Linked DNA regions of Homo sapiens: region 1 is linked to region 2. The links are contacts of gene promoters, found by promoter capture Hi-C in human tissues and cell types (Jung and others, 2019). All regions are on one chromosome and are shown on one strand. The core of a region is centred on a gene start or on the middle of the fragment in contact, and the rest is flanking DNA. Distances in the headings are between cores, read along the strand shown.

Region 1 (4,383 bases), core at 156-2,655, 720 kb after region 2:
CCCAGATTCAAGCGATTCTCCTGCCTCAGCCTCCAGAGTAGCTGGCGTTACAGGCATGTGCCACCATGCCCGGCCAATTTTGTATCTTTAGTAGAGATGGAGTTTCTCCATGTTGGCCAGGCTGGTCTCCAACTCCAGACCTCAGGTGATCTGCCCGCCTCGGCCTCCCAAAGTGCTGGGATTATAGGCGTGAGCCACCGCGCCCAGCATGTTTGCTTGTTTTTAGATGGAGACAGGGTCTCACTCTATCACCCAGGCTGGGGTGCAGTGGCGCGATCATAGTTCACTGCAGCCTCGACCTCCTCCCGGGCTCAAGTGGTCCACCCACCTTGGCCTCCAAAGTAGTTGGGATTACAGGCTACTTTTCAGTAGCCCAGCTAATTTTTTAAAAACCTCTTTTGTAGAGATGGGGTCTTGCTATGTTGGCTAGGCTGGTCTCAAACTACCAGCCTCAAGTGATCCTCCCGAAATGCTGGGTTTACAGGCGTGAAGTACCATGCCCTGCCCCCAGATCTTTGGTTTTTTCTAAAGAATTTGAGCATCCCAATTTGAATTTGAATTCTCCAGGTTAGAGAGGTTTGTGCACCGAGAACAGGAAAGTTAGGTGGTGCAACATTAAGACGGGGTTAGGGAAGGCCTCCCTTGGAGAAGACCCCTGACCCAGGCAGGAATCCACTTGCCAAGTAGGGAAAGAGGAGAGGAGAGGGTGAGGGAGGTGGGAGGCCTGACCACCAGCCTTGTGGTCAGCGAAAGGCCGCAGGGGCGCTGGGCGGGAGGATTCCAGCTCTGCCAGTTCTCCACGGTGGCCTCATTTGATCTATGCAGGTCACAGTCCCTGATCGGGGGAGGGAGGCACACACTCCCTACTGGCCTGCCCTCCCCAGCCCCGGGGTCTAGGAGGAGGGCTCCACGGTGCGGACCGGGGTGGCCTCTCCAGGGCCCGCTCGGGCCGGGCCCGGATGGCGCCTACTCCCTCTCCGAGTGCCATCGAATTGTGTGCTAATTAGCCACAATTTGCACCGCGGCAGGGGCGCCCCGAGGCCACGCCTGCCCTCTAGGGGGTGGCAGGGATCGGGTTGGGTACCCCCCACCCAGACACCCAGGCAGTGACAGTCGCCAACCCCGTGGCGCGAGGACACGCGCAGCAGGGATGCGGCACAGCGCGCGCTGCGCTCGGCACCGGCCAGCCCGGGACGCCCCAGGGGCCGCCGCATCGTGTCCCCCGGGCCGGGTGAGTGGCCGGGCCGGGAATGGTTAAGCCCACCGAGCTGCGGCTGCCTAGAGCGGCGGCGGCGACGGCGGCGGCGGCGGCGGGGGCCGGGGCGCGGGGGCGCGGCGGGCGGGCAGGGGCGGGGGACAGGATGCGGATGCCGGGGGGACTTCCTGTGCCGGCCCCCGCGCCCCCGCCCCCGGCCCGGCCAGCGGCCCGCACGGACGCACTCCCGGGCGGGCGGGCGAGCCCAGGGGGACCCGGCCTTGCCGCGGCGCCCGCCCCGCCCCCGCCCCGGCCCCCGCGCGGCCCGGCCCAGGCCGCCCGCAGGCTCCGGGCACCTGTAGCCCCCGAGGACCCGCGTCGCCTGGCCGCCGCCGACCCCAGGCGGGGCCACCCCGTGGTGCCGACCCCGGGCGCCGGCCTGGATCCCGCTGCCCGCGATGGTCCCGGGGGGCCGGCCCTGAGCCCCGCGCGGGATTCGGGGCCCTGCCTCCCGCCCCAGCCCCCGCCGGAGAGTCTCCACCAACTTCTGCTCGGCCGCTCCTCTCAGCCCCTTCCCTTGGCCCAGGGCGACCTCGGCAGCCCAGAGGGCGTGGACCCTCCGGAGTGCCCAGAAAGCCCCCGGGGTGGCCCTGCGCCTCCTGGCTCTTTCTGGATGGAGGCGCCTCCGGAAGGAGCCGGCTGCACGCCGTGGCCTTCACCTCGCAGCCTCTGCTGACCACACCTCCCTAGCGCAGAGGCTGCCCGGGAGCAGGAAATGCTCCACCAGGTGAGGCCCAGGGGGTCGTTGGCGCTGGGCAACCGGGGACGCGTCCCTTGAGAGAGTTTGGACTGGATGGCACGAGTCGGCCTGTTTAGGGGAGAGGGGCCAGCTCTGCACGGGCCAGGGTGGACTCTCAGGAGCGCCTGGGCACAGGGCCAGGCCGTGGGTGACAGTGCTCTGGACACCTGCCTTGCCCGGGAGCTGGGGTGGCAGCTGACACACGTGGCCTGCTGGCGGCCTTCTCAGAGCAGGCCAGGAAGGCAATAGAATGGAAGGGCGCCAGGCGCAGTGGCTCACTCCTATAATCCCAACACTTTAGGAGGCCGAGGCAGGAGGATCGCCTGAGGCCAGGAGTTCGAGACCAGCCTTGGGCAACATCATCTACAATATAAAAAAACATAAAAATTAGCTGGGGGTGATGGCACGCACCTGTAGCCCCAGCTACTCAGGAGGCGGAGGCAGGAGAATCGCTTGAACTGGGGAGACGGAGGTTGCAGTGAGTCCAGATCGCACCACTGCACTCCAGCCTGGGTGACAGAGTGAGAATCCGTATCAAGAAAAAAAAAAAAAAGTATTTAATAAAAAAAGAATTGAAGGAGGCAGGGAGGATGTTGATGGACAGTCTCTCTTTGGCCCCAGAGCTCCCCGCCCTGAATGTCCCTTTGGTGACTCTAGCTTTCCTCCCTTGTGAAGGGCTGATACCCACAGTTGTGTCTCTGTGGGGCTACCCCACTCTCCATCCCGCTGTGAAAAGTCAGGAGAGGCAGTCCTGCCTCTATGCAGGTGACAGCCTCTGGTGCTGTCTGCCAACTCCCCAGTCCTGAGCCTCCAGGCCGCCGGCACTCCCCGTTCCCCGTTGCGGGGGACAGTCCTATAGTTGCAGCAGGTATGGAGCTGACCGCTCTGGGTGGCCCGAGGCAGAGGTGGAGGGCCTTTGGGGGCCTGTGGGCACCTGGCGGGGGTCAAAGCACTCCAGCCTGGCTAAACTGCTTCCTTCCTTTCAGCACAGCCGACTCCCGGGAATCGGGGTCTGACCGCCAGGATGGAAGTGGGGCCAGCCACCGAGACCTTCGTGCTGGAACTTCAATGTCTTGAGGATGGGGGCCCAGGGCCTGACACCCTCTCAGGTGAGGGCCTCGGGGGATCCCTTGACAGAGCCTCATGCCTGCCTGCTGTGGCAGAAAGAGGCTCAAGGGTGGCGGGCAGCCTGCACAGACTCACACCAGCCAACCTCAGCTGCATTGAGTAACACCAGCAGCTCTCCCTTGAGATTTTCCAAGGTGGCTGTGTCAGGCAGGCTGAGGCCAGGCTGGTGAGGGGCTCCCCGCTCCCCACATGGGTGCTGACTGGACTTAACACTCACACGCGCTGCTGGCTGGAACTCATTGCTGTGTTTCCTGGCAGCCAGAGGGCCTCCACCATCCTCCCACCTGGCCCCAGCTCCTGAGTCAATTTCCACTCAATTTCCCGGATCCGATTCAGGTACTAATAGGCTCTCTTCCTCTGCCCCTCCTGCCCCAGATGTTGGCTCCCTGGCTTCTTCTCCCCTGTGGCCTCGTAACCTTTTCCACTTTAGCTTGACCTCTGCTTGCATCTGTTTTTCTCTACCTGATGCCCAGGGGCAGATGTGGTACTGCAGAACCTTCCAAGACCTCTTCCTCTGGGACCCACTCTGGGCAAACCTTCTCTGGTGGCCACACTCATGAGAGCCAGTTTCCATTCTGTGCTTTAAGGGTGCTGAGTGAGGGCCTGGGGCAGGGCGGGACAGAGCTTGAAAAGGACCAAGGGAATTGGAGGGGGTGGGATGGGGATGTGTGGAGTCAAGAAGGACCGTTCTGACCGAGCATGATGGCTCATTCCTGTAATCCCAGCACTTTGGGAGGCCGAGGCGGGCAGATCAGTTGAGGCCAGGAGTTTGAGACCAGCCTGGCCAACATGGTGAAACACTGTCTTTACTACAAATACAAAAATGAGCTGGGTGTGGTGGGCACCTGTAATCTCAGCTACTCGGGAGGCTGAGGCAGAAGAATCACTTGAACCCAGGAGGCAGAGGTTGCAGTGAGCCAGGATCATGCCACTGCACTCCAGCCTTGGTGACAGAGTGAGAGTCCGTCTCAAAAAAAAGAAGAAGAGGAAAAGAAGACCCTTCTGACTTGTAAATTTACCTGACAAAACTTTGGGAGGGTATACACGTCAGACAACACTGGACTAGATGTTCACTAAAATGCCTTTGTTAAAAATGCTGAGGTCAGGCACAATGGCTCACACCTGTAATCCCAGCACTTTGGGAAACCGAGGCAGGTGGATCGCTTGAGCTCAGGAGTTCGAGACCAGCCTGTGAAACATGGCAAAACCCCATCTCTACAAAAAGTTTAAAAAATTAGCTAGGCGTGGTGTTGTGTACCTA
Region 2 (3,942 bases), core at 1,443-3,942:
CATTCATAGTCCCATTTAACTCTTCAAGTGAAACTCTCACTTGGCAGGAATTTACTATTAGCCATTTTCCAAATAAGAGATACAGACAAGAGAGTCTCCATCTCTTCTTTGGTGCAAGGAGATTGGTGCAGTCGGTGAGTGGCAAAAGTGGATATGTACCCAGATCTGTCTCCAGTCCAAATTCCAACTCATCACTTCCCTAAAAGTGGTCTATTCTGCCAGGCTGGATAAGGGAAGTGGTTCTGCTTCCAAACTTAATATGTGACAGATAAGGCAATCTAAACCAAAGTCTTCTTGAGCTTGGTCAAACCATATGCTGCCAAGGCTTGAATCCACATAACTGTAACAAGCCATCCCAACTATGCCACAACCCACACACCTCAAAGGCAAGGGAATCCCAGGCAGCAAGGTCCAGGAACAGCCACTCTGGGGAGTCTGCCACCTCTGATATTGCTCCCGTGGCACACACGGTGCCCCATCTGCCTCCAGACCTGCGCTGAAGGAATGGGGGAAAGGGGCAAACTTTGTAGGTGTGGGTGATCCAGTGGTCACTTGAGGTCTCTCAAACAAGGACTCTGTAGATGATGTTAATGGGCCAAACGGAATGCACATCTGCCCTTAAGTGTGTTTCTTTTCTTTCTTTTCTTCTTTCTTTCTTTCTTTTTTTTTTTTTTTTGTTGAGACAGGGTCTGGATCTGTTGCCCAGGCTGGAGTGTAGTGGTGCAATCTTGGCTCACTGCAACCTCCACCTACTGGGTTCAAGTAATTCTTCTGCCTCAAGCCTCCCAAGTAGCTGGAACCACAGGCATGTGCCACCACGCCTGGCTAGTTTTTTGTATTTTAGTAGAGACGGGGCTGGTCTGGAACTCCGGGCCTCAAGTGATCCACCCACCTTGGCCTCCCAAAGTGCTGGGATTACAGCTATGAGCCACCGTGGCTAGCCTTGTTTATTTCTAAATGAGGCTTCCTTTGTGTCTCTACATTTCCTTCTACAAAAAAAACTGCCATGGCACAGGGGCTTATGCCTACAATCCCAGCACTTGGAGAGCCCAAGGCCAGTGGATCACTTGAGTCCAGGAGTTCGAGACCAGCCTGGGTTAACATAGTGAGACCCCAGCTCTACGAAAAATTTAAAAATTAGCCAGCCATGGTGGCATGCACCTGTGGTCCCAGCTATTCGGGAGGCTGAGGTGGGAGGATCACTTGAGCCCAGGAGTTCCAGGCTGCAGTGACGTCTGATCTGGCCACTGCAATCCAGCCTGGGCAACAGAGCAAAGTGCTGTTTTAGAATAAAATACTTTTTAAATAAACTAAAAACAAAACAATGGACCTGGTGTGGGTGGCTCACATCTGTAATCCCAGCACTTTGGGAGGGCAGGTGAGGCAGAATAGGGAATGAGGGTAACCAAGGGTTAAGGCATAAACAAAAGAACAGCAGGTGCAGCCAGTTCTAGGCAAGATTAGGCAGCATAGAGGCCACGTGTTCATTCCCTCAATCAGAGGCTGATTGATGGACGACGGGGGGGGGGGCGGGGGGGAGGGTGACAGCCTCTGATTGACGGGGGGGGGGGGGGGGGCGGGTGCGCGTCTCCACTTCAGCCTCTGATTGGTCACAGGCCAATCCTTCAGAGGGTGTAACCAATCGGAGACCTCTAACGGGCACCTAGGGGCGTTACCTAATTCTTCCAGCTTAATAAAAATCCTAATGGGGGCTCTTGAGCTGTTTGCTCTAGCTTGCTCCTGCTCTGTGAGTTGTACTTTCGCTTCAATAAATCTGTTTCTTCCTTACTTCAGTTTTTTCTTTTGTTTCTTTTCGTTGCTTTGTTCTTTTGTTACTTTGTGCATTGCATTTTGTTCAGTTCTGTGTTCAACAAGCCAAGAACCTGGGCAATCCACGGTCAAGACCTTCCATCCAGTAGCAGAGGCAGGAGGATCCCCTGATGCCAAGAGTTAGAGAGCAGCCGGGGCAACAAAGTGAGACCCTGTCTCTACTATCTATCTATCTATTTTTTAATTATCTGGGCATGGTAGTGCATGCCTGTGGTCTCAGCTACTCCTCAGGCTGAGGTGGGAAGATCCCTTGAGCCCAGGAGTTGAGGCTGCAGTGAGCTATGATGGCACCACTGCACTGCAACCTGGGTGACAAAGCGAGATCTTGTCTCTAAATTAAATTTAAAACAATACCACCAAAACAACAACAGGCTGGGCGGTGGTGTCTCACGCCTGTAATCGGAGCACTTTGGGAGGCCGAAGTGGGAGACCATTTGAGGCCAGGAGTTCGAGAGCAGCCTGGGCAACACAGACCCCACCTCTACAAAAAAATAAAACTGGCCTTGGTGGCGCGCGCCTGTAATCCTAGCTACTTGGGAGGCTGAGGCAGGGGGATTGCTTGAGTCTCGGACGTTGAGGCTGCAGTGAGCTGAGATCGCGCCACTACACTCCAGCCTGGATGACAAACTGAGACCCTATCAGAAAAAACAACAACAAAAAAAAAACAGTGCCCGCTCGGTTTTTCCTGAAACGCGCAGCCCTCGCCTGTAGCCAGGAGAAAACTCCGCGAGCCAGGAAAACACAAACTCGGCCAGGAAACAGCCACCCGGGGGTGCCTGAAGAGGACGCTGCGAGGCGGATTCTTTTTCCGGGCCTGCGGCGAGCGCTTCCGGGGCGGTGGCGACGGAGGCGGAAGTGCGGTGTTTTAGCCGGTGGCTGCTGTCTCTGGGCGGGCCGTGGGAGGCTCCCGAGGTGGGGGCCGGGGCGGGATGGCTGCAGCGGCGGCCGGGGCCGGGAGCGGGCCCTGGGCGGCCCAGGAGAAGCAGTTCCCGCCGGCGCTGCTGAGTTTCTTCATCTACAACCCGCGCTTCGGGCCGCGCGAAGGACAGGTATGCGGAGGGGGCGGCGCGCGGGCGGGCGGCGCCGGTGTTCCCCGGGAAGGTGGCCCTGTGGTTCTGCCCACCTCGAGGGGCACTGACCTAGCCTGCATTGTGCCAGGTGCGAGTCCGGGCAGGGGGCTGCGGCGGGGACCTGACAGCAGGCAGGGACCGCTTCAGGTCCTAGGTCGATGGAATAAAGCCCCGTCGGGTCTATATCACTCCACACCCCAGGTTGAGGCTCTTTGCGCTTTGCTTTGCGTCAGTTCTGGGAAATTAAAATTGAACTTGGCTTTGTTAAGTGGGTAGTCCCCAACTAGAAGCGTGGAACCAGGGTGGCAGACGCTAGCCTTCAAATGATGCAAGCCTGGAGGTCCCTGTAATAGTTTTCGCCCAAATGAGGAAATAAATTAATTTCGGGAGGGGGGTGTGTGTGTGTGTGTGTGTGTGTGTGTGTGTGTGTGTGTGTGTGTGTGGTTTTTCTGAGGTGGGGACGGCGACTTTCTCAAAGGATGTCCGGAGCTGTGTTTTGTTTCCAGCAAGTCAGACTTCTGTTAAAGACTGTCCAGGCTGGGCGCTGTGACTCACGCCTGTAATCCCAGCACTTTAGGAGGCCGAGATGGGAGGATTGCTTGAGGCCAGGGGTTCCAGACCAGCCTGGGCAACATAGCAAGACCCCCAACTCTACAAAAAAAAAAAAAATTGAAAAGTGAGCCGGGCGTGGTGGCACGCACCTGTATTTCCAGTTACTCAGGAGGCTGAGGCCAGAGGATCGCTTGAGCCCAAGTGATTGAGGCTGCAGGTGAGCTGTAATAGCGCCACTGCACTACAGCCTGGGCAGCACAGACCCCATCTCCAGAAAAAGAAAAAAAAGCAACTTGTCAGTTCAAATGGCTGGGAACTGACTGGATTTAATTTTCAGGGAGCTATGTGTCTGCAGATGGGCACACCTTTATTTCTTACAAGCATTGGTGTATTACAAATTAGCACTAGGAAAGAAACCTAGAGACTTGAGTTTTCATAAAAATTACCTGGTGCTACTTCAGATGTGACTTACTGACTATCGAAATTGCCT

The links. The method cuts DNA at HindIII sites, captures the fragments that hold promoters and counts their contacts. A contact is called where the count stands out against the background at its distance.
Region 1: the fragment with the promoter of ZNF853 here is called in contact with the fragment with the promoter of CCZ1 in region 2 in 1 of the 25 tissues and cell types used here (lymphoblastoid cells).

The regions. Positions count from the first base shown.
Region 1 is chr7:6,614,205-6,618,587 of GRCh38, forward strand. It overlaps ZNF853 (zinc finger protein 853), which reads left to right and starts at 1,406. Exons shown (of 3, transcript NM_017560.3): 1 at 1,406-1,982; 2 at 2,986-3,103. The coding sequence starts at 1,971. RefSeq lists enhancers at 1-289, 290-1,043. The HindIII fragment of the contact is 23,550 bases long and covers 1-4,383 here.
Region 2 is chr7:5,896,041-5,899,982 of GRCh38, forward strand. CCZ1 (CCZ1 vacuolar protein trafficking and biogenesis associated) reads left to right here and starts at 2,693. Exons shown (of 15, transcript NM_015622.6): 1 at 2,693-2,879. The coding sequence starts at 2,760. RefSeq lists an enhancer at 1,831-1,910. The HindIII fragment of the contact is 16,541 bases long and covers 1-3,942 here.